Linked DNA regions of Homo sapiens: region 2 is linked to region 1. Evidence: promoter capture Hi-C in 16 types of primary human blood cells and fetal thymus (Javierre and others, 2016). All regions are on one chromosome and are shown on one strand. Each heading gives the region's core, a stretch centred on a gene start or on the middle of the fragment in contact. The rest is flanking DNA. Distances are from core to core; before and after follow the strand shown. Region 1 holds the start of MAP3K1 (mitogen-activated protein kinase kinase kinase 1). Region 2 holds the start of SLC38A9 (solute carrier family 38 member 9).

Region 1 (2,710 bases), core at 67-2,566:
TCAAACTCCAAACAGAAGTCACTCAAGTGACTTAGCAGTGCAGTTCGCATTCCCAGGAACACTCAAAGCCCCTTGGGGGCTGCAATTAGACAAACCGCACTTCCTAAAAGACTGCAAGCCTCCGCGAGTGTGCAGCCTCCCGCCGCACGGCTTTGACAGGCGTTACCGAGCCGTCCTCCTGGAGCCCTGCGGCCGGCGCTGGGGGCGCGCCGCCTGCGTCCGGGCCCAGCCCGCGGTATCTGCCTAGGGACTCGAGTCCCGGGCGGGCCGAGGGGCTCTGCCTGTCACGGCCGCTGGGACCTGCTACTTTCTCTTCGGTCCTCTCAGTCTCCCACCCGACCTCGGGCTTCTCACCCACCCCGCCCCTCTTCCGACCACCGCCCGCCTCAGGCTCGGGCCTCGCCCCCCAGTGCCTTTGCCCCGGGGACACCCGTCCGGGGGCGCCGCCGCAGGGCCGTGCCCCGCCCCCGGGCTCCTCGGAGAGCCCCGATTCCAGGAGTCCCACAAAGCCAGCCGTGGCCCCCTACACCTTTTCGCAACGGTTCCCCGCAGAGAGGCTCGCACGCCTGTCACATGTCTGCAAACAATAACAAACTCTTCCGCACGTCCCCGTCCGGTCCCCCAGGCTGGGTCCGGGGCGCCGCCCGACTCCGAAGGGGTCGGGGGGTGCTCAGGGGCGTAGGTCCCGGCGAGCGGCGCGTAGCCTCGCTGCGCTGAACCCCGGGACGCCGTGCATGGTGCCCGGGGTTCATTCATTGCCCTCTGCCCGCTCTCCAAGTCCCCGCCGCGACCCCGGCCGTGCTGCTCACCCGGCGGGGGCCGCTGCAGGAGACGGCTCGGCGGCGGGCGCCCGCTTCTCCCCGGGCTCGGCCGCTGCGGGACTCGAGGCGCCGCTGTCCGGCGCCGCCACCGACTCGGTAAGGTGGGCGCCGCCGCGGCTCGCGGCTCCGTGGGGCGGCGGCACCGCCACAGGCTGGAAGCCGGTCCCACTCCCCGCTGCGTCCGCGGGCTCCGGCGACGGGGAAGTCGAGGAGGCCGGCGGTGAGGCGGCAAGGAAGAGCGGCTGCTCAGGCAGCTGGTCCAGCTCCACACTCCGCACTTTGCGCAGCTGCCGCCGCCGCCAGTCCGCCCGCTCGCGGCCCCCGCTGCCCGCCTCCCGCAGCAGTCCCGCGGCAGCCGCGGGCGCGCTGCTCGCCTTGAGGGCTCCTCCGCCGCCGCCTGCCTCAGGGCTCGTAGCCCTGGCGCCCGGGAATCCCGACGACGAGGCGCGATTCCCCGCCGCCGCCGCCATTTTCTCTCGCGGGCTACATTCGCTCGGCCCCTGCGAGGGAGGGAGGGGGCGGGGAGAGCGCAGGGGGCGGGCACTGCGCCGCCAGCGTAAGGCCTCCTGCGCCAACTGCGTGAGCGCGGCCCGCCGGGCGCCTGGCCTGGACTGACCGACGGGCGGGCGCACTGGGTCCGGCCTGCGGCAGAGGTGTGGGTGGAGGGCGGCCCGGCGGCCGCAGGTGGGAGGGAGTGGGCTGTGCTCTCCGCCGGGCGAGAGGGCGGGCGGGCGAGGTGGACTGGGAGGCGGAGGGGGCGGGGGCGGAGGCGGAGGCGTGGGCTCCCGGGACTCTGCGCGCTGCACGCGCCGCGCCGCCAGGTAGTCCCGGCCGCACCGGCGACAGGAGGAGCCTTGGCGGCAGCGCTGCGCCGCTTCCTCTCGGCAATCTCGGCCCGGCACCGCGGAGCTCGCGGGAGGGGAGTTGCACCTTCCGAAAGAAAGAATTAGTTCCAACTTGGGTTTCTGGTGCTTGAAGGGGACGCAGGCGAGAGGGTTTACAGTCTGTCATTCCCACTGCCCTTTGCAGTGGGCGTCGGGGGACCCGGGCGTGGACCAGCCTCCCACCGACGCGCAGGTGGCGCCCGGGACCGTCGCCTGCTGCAAAGCGAAAGCAAGTCAACGTTCAGCAGACAGGCTGCCGCGGACCAGAAAAATAAAGTTTTGTTTGTGTTTTCTTTTGAAAAGAAAACATTCCTTCTCTATTGTCCCACCCCTGTCCCTGTGCTACAGATAACAAAACTTCAAAGTTTTCTGTAATACCTTACATCCTGAAGCTGCTGATTTGGGACAACTACCCCCTACCCTCACCAAGTCCCCACAGCCTCTGAGAAACCGTTGGGGCGAGGAAGGGAGGCGGGTGTCCCCGTCGATCTTTAGTTTTTCCTTGGCTGTCTTTGGGAAAGGCAGTCCCGTACAGAACCACATATAGCGCGTTTGGGGAGGGGACCAGCGCTGTGCCAGGAAGTGCTCGGTAATGTCACCCTCGGCCAGGTCCCGGCCCTCCCCGAATCCGATGCTTCTCGCCGCACGTCCTTCTTCCCTGCAGGGTCGGGCCACCGGCCGGGTTCCCTCTGTCCCCACTCCTGCAGGGCCTGGCTGCCCATCGCTGCGTTGTGAGTCCTCCTAGTCCCTGGACTCTACGTGAGAAGGTGCTTTGGGATGGAAAAAGCAACATTTACACGTTAATGATTTTTGACCTTTTGTCAACTGAGGAGAACTTCTGTGTTGCGTTTATTTCTTCCTTCCTTTCCTTTCCTCCAGCTGGTTTGTTTAGGATGGGGAATCTCCCAAAACCCAGGAGGAACGTCTATAGATTTACTTTGTGAAACATGATTAAGGAGGGGGGAGGTTGGGGTGGGGGGGTGCGGATTCTCACGGAGATAGTCT
Region 2 (2,710 bases), core at 61-2,560, 1.1 Mb after region 1:
AAGGACGTAACCAGATCATACAACACGCGCCAGGAAAGCCCAAAAGAGGGGTGATCCCTCGATGGAGGTGCCGCATCAGCGTTTTCTCACGTGGCCTCCGGGGCTCTATGAATGGCAAGAGATTGCATTCCTTCTACTACCCCTCCCAGCCTCCAGCCGGGACAAGGAACTGGAGCAAACTCGGGGCTGCAGTTCCGACTGGACTCGCCCACCTGGGCGCGCCGGCTGCCCAGCCTCCTGAAGCCTCGGGGCTGGGCCCTGCGGTGATGGGCGTGCTGGCCGTCGCAGAGCCCTCTGGGAGTTGTAGTCCGTAGCGGCGAGAGGTTTGACAGCGACCGCGGGCTTGGCGCATTCAGAACTCCAACTCCCGCCGGCCCCTGCGACCCAGGCTATTGCCGCTTCCTGTTTGGACTAGGAGCCCCGCGGTCGCAAATTGCGAGAATTTGGGAAGGGAATCTTTATCTTCTCGTCTAGTTCTCCGAGGTTGAAGGCTCGGCCTGCTCAGGTAGATCACGTTCCCACGTCTAGCAAACTCGCCCCTCGGGGAGGTGGGAAGGTATCCGAGGGAAGGCGGCGGGAAGGGTTGAAGTTGGGGCGAAGCCGGCTGTCACCTGGGATAGTTCTTTGCAGCGCATCGGAACCGTCTCTTCTTTTGGGGCTCAGGGAGGCCATAGCCTGGAGCCGCGGAGACTGCTCCGGAGGCACGGCGCGCGCTCCTCAAGGGCTCAGGGAAAGAAAGTCAGGAGTCCCTCGGGGTCTGAGGAAATCCGAGTGTCTATGGGAGTCGGTGTCAGCTGGAGCCTTAGAGAAAAGATAGGGTTGGGGTAAATGAACACCCTGACCCTCGGGTGAGAGAAGGAGGGAGTAGGAGAATTGTGGGACTTGCAGGAATGGGAGCACCCTTCTTTCTCTCTCTTGAGATAGGGTCTTGCTCCGTCGCTTGGGCTTGAGTGAGGTGGCGCGATCACGGCTGGGAGCACCTTTCTCCATCCCGAGTTGGGGACATCTAGAGGGGGAACATGAGGGAGGAACCCCCTTTGGGCCTTGAGCTAGGACCACAGAGGGGGTGAGGGCCATGACTGGTAAGCCCTCGCCACGCTTTTCACACGACTCAGTTGTGAGAGTGAGTGTGTTGATAGTGGGTAGCTTGACATCTCAGCATAGTAAAGCTGGAAGAGGGGTTTGAGAGCAGCTAGTCAAGCGCATTCTCCTCATTTTACAGAGAAGGAAACTGAGGTCCACCGAGTTGGAGAAACCTACTCAACACCAGGTAACCATTTAATGGCAAACTCGACCAACACCTAATTGTCATGACTCCCAGGCAGTGTCTTATCCATTGCCGTGCTCTGTAGATGAGCACACTATAAGTTGTAAGTTGTACCTCCACCTTGTTTTCTTTTTTCTTTTCTTTTCTTTCTTTTTTTTTTTCAGACAAGAGTCTCGCTCTGTCGCCCAGGCTGGAGTGCAGTGGAGTGATCTCGGCTCACTGCAACCTCCGCCTCCCTGGTTCAAGCGATTCTCGTGCCTCACCCTCCTGAGTAGCTAGGATTACAGCTGCCCGCCACCACGCCCCGCTAATTTTTGTATTTTTAGTAGAAACGGGGTTTCACCATGTTGGCCAGGCTGGTCTTGAACTCCTGATCTCAAGTGATCCGCCTGCCTTGGCCTCCCAAAGTGCTGGGATTACAGGCGTGGGCCACTGCGCCCAGCCTCTTTTTTCTTTTTAATACCTTCAGACATGACAAAGATCTGACATATGTAGGATAGGCAGCTGCTGAGGAGAAAGATTTTTTAAAAACGTTTTGGCCAGGTGCCGTGGCTCACGCCTGTAATCCCAGCACTTTGGGAGGCTGAGGCAGGCAGATCACGAGGTCAAGAGATCAAGACTATCCTGGCCAATATGGTGAAACCCCGTCTCTACTAAAAAAAAATACCAAAATTAGCCAGGTGTGGTGGCACATGCCTGCAGTCCCAGCTACTCAGGAGGCTGAGGCAGGAGAATCGCTTGAACCCAGGAGGCGGAGGTTGCAGTGAGCTGAGATCGTGCCACCGCACTCCAGCCTGGTGACAGAGTGAGGCTCCGTCTCAAAAAAAACAAAAACAAAAACTAAACAAAAAAAGTTTCAATAGGTCAAAATTACCCATGTCCTAACTTGAGAAAAATCTCTCTGCCTCATAAACAACTACAAACTTCGTGTTAAGATAGAAGGTTCGGCGGATTGCGGTGGCTAACGCCTGTAATCCCAACACTTTTGGGAGGCTGAGGTGGGCGGATCATTTGAGGTTAGGAGTTCAAGACCAGCCTGGCGAACATGGTGAAACCCTGTCTCTACTAAAAATACAAAAATCAGCCAGGTGTGGTGGTATGCGTCTCATCTGTAATCCCAGCTACTTGGGATGCTGAGGCAGGAGAATTGCTTGAGCCCGGCAGGCGGAGGTTGCAGTGAGCCAAGACTGCACCACTGCACTCCAGCCTGAGCCACAGAGGGAGATCCTGTCTTAAAAAAAAAAAAAAAAAAGTTGTCACCTATATAGTTGCTTTGTTTCTAAGAAAATAAAATTTACCTTTCCTTCCCCTAGACTTCTGAGAACAGTTAGACTTAGATTCCTTTTCTTTTCTTTTTCTTTTTTTTTTCTTTTTTTTTTTTTTTTTTGAGATGGAGTCTTGCTCTGTTGCCAGGCTGGAGTGCAGTGGCGCAATCTCAGCTCA

The links. Contacts are between HindIII fragments. The CHiCAGO score rates a contact against its expected background, and 5 or more counts as called.
Region 2: a contact is called between a fragment that was not itself captured here and the fragment with the promoter of MAP3K1 in region 1, in 1 of 17 cell types (fetal thymus). The highest score is 5.6, in fetal thymus.

What each region holds. Positions count from the first base shown.
Region 1 is chr5:56,814,155-56,816,864 of GRCh38, reverse strand. MAP3K1 (mitogen-activated protein kinase kinase kinase 1) reads right to left here and starts at 1,316. Exons shown (of 20, transcript NM_005921.2): 1 at 810-1,316. The coding sequence starts at 1,291. RefSeq lists silencers at 219-458, 639-758, 829-1,598 and enhancers at 1-507, 1,959-2,088. The HindIII fragment of the contact is 8,983 bases long and covers 1-2,710 here.
Region 2 is chr5:55,710,012-55,712,721 of GRCh38, reverse strand. It overlaps SLC38A9 (solute carrier family 38 member 9), which reads left to right and starts at 398. Exons shown (of 16, transcript NM_173514.4): 1 at 398-505; 2 at 1,223-1,270. RefSeq lists enhancers at 1-135, 1-160, 251-300, 871-950. The HindIII fragment of the contact is 3,721 bases long and covers 1-2,710 here.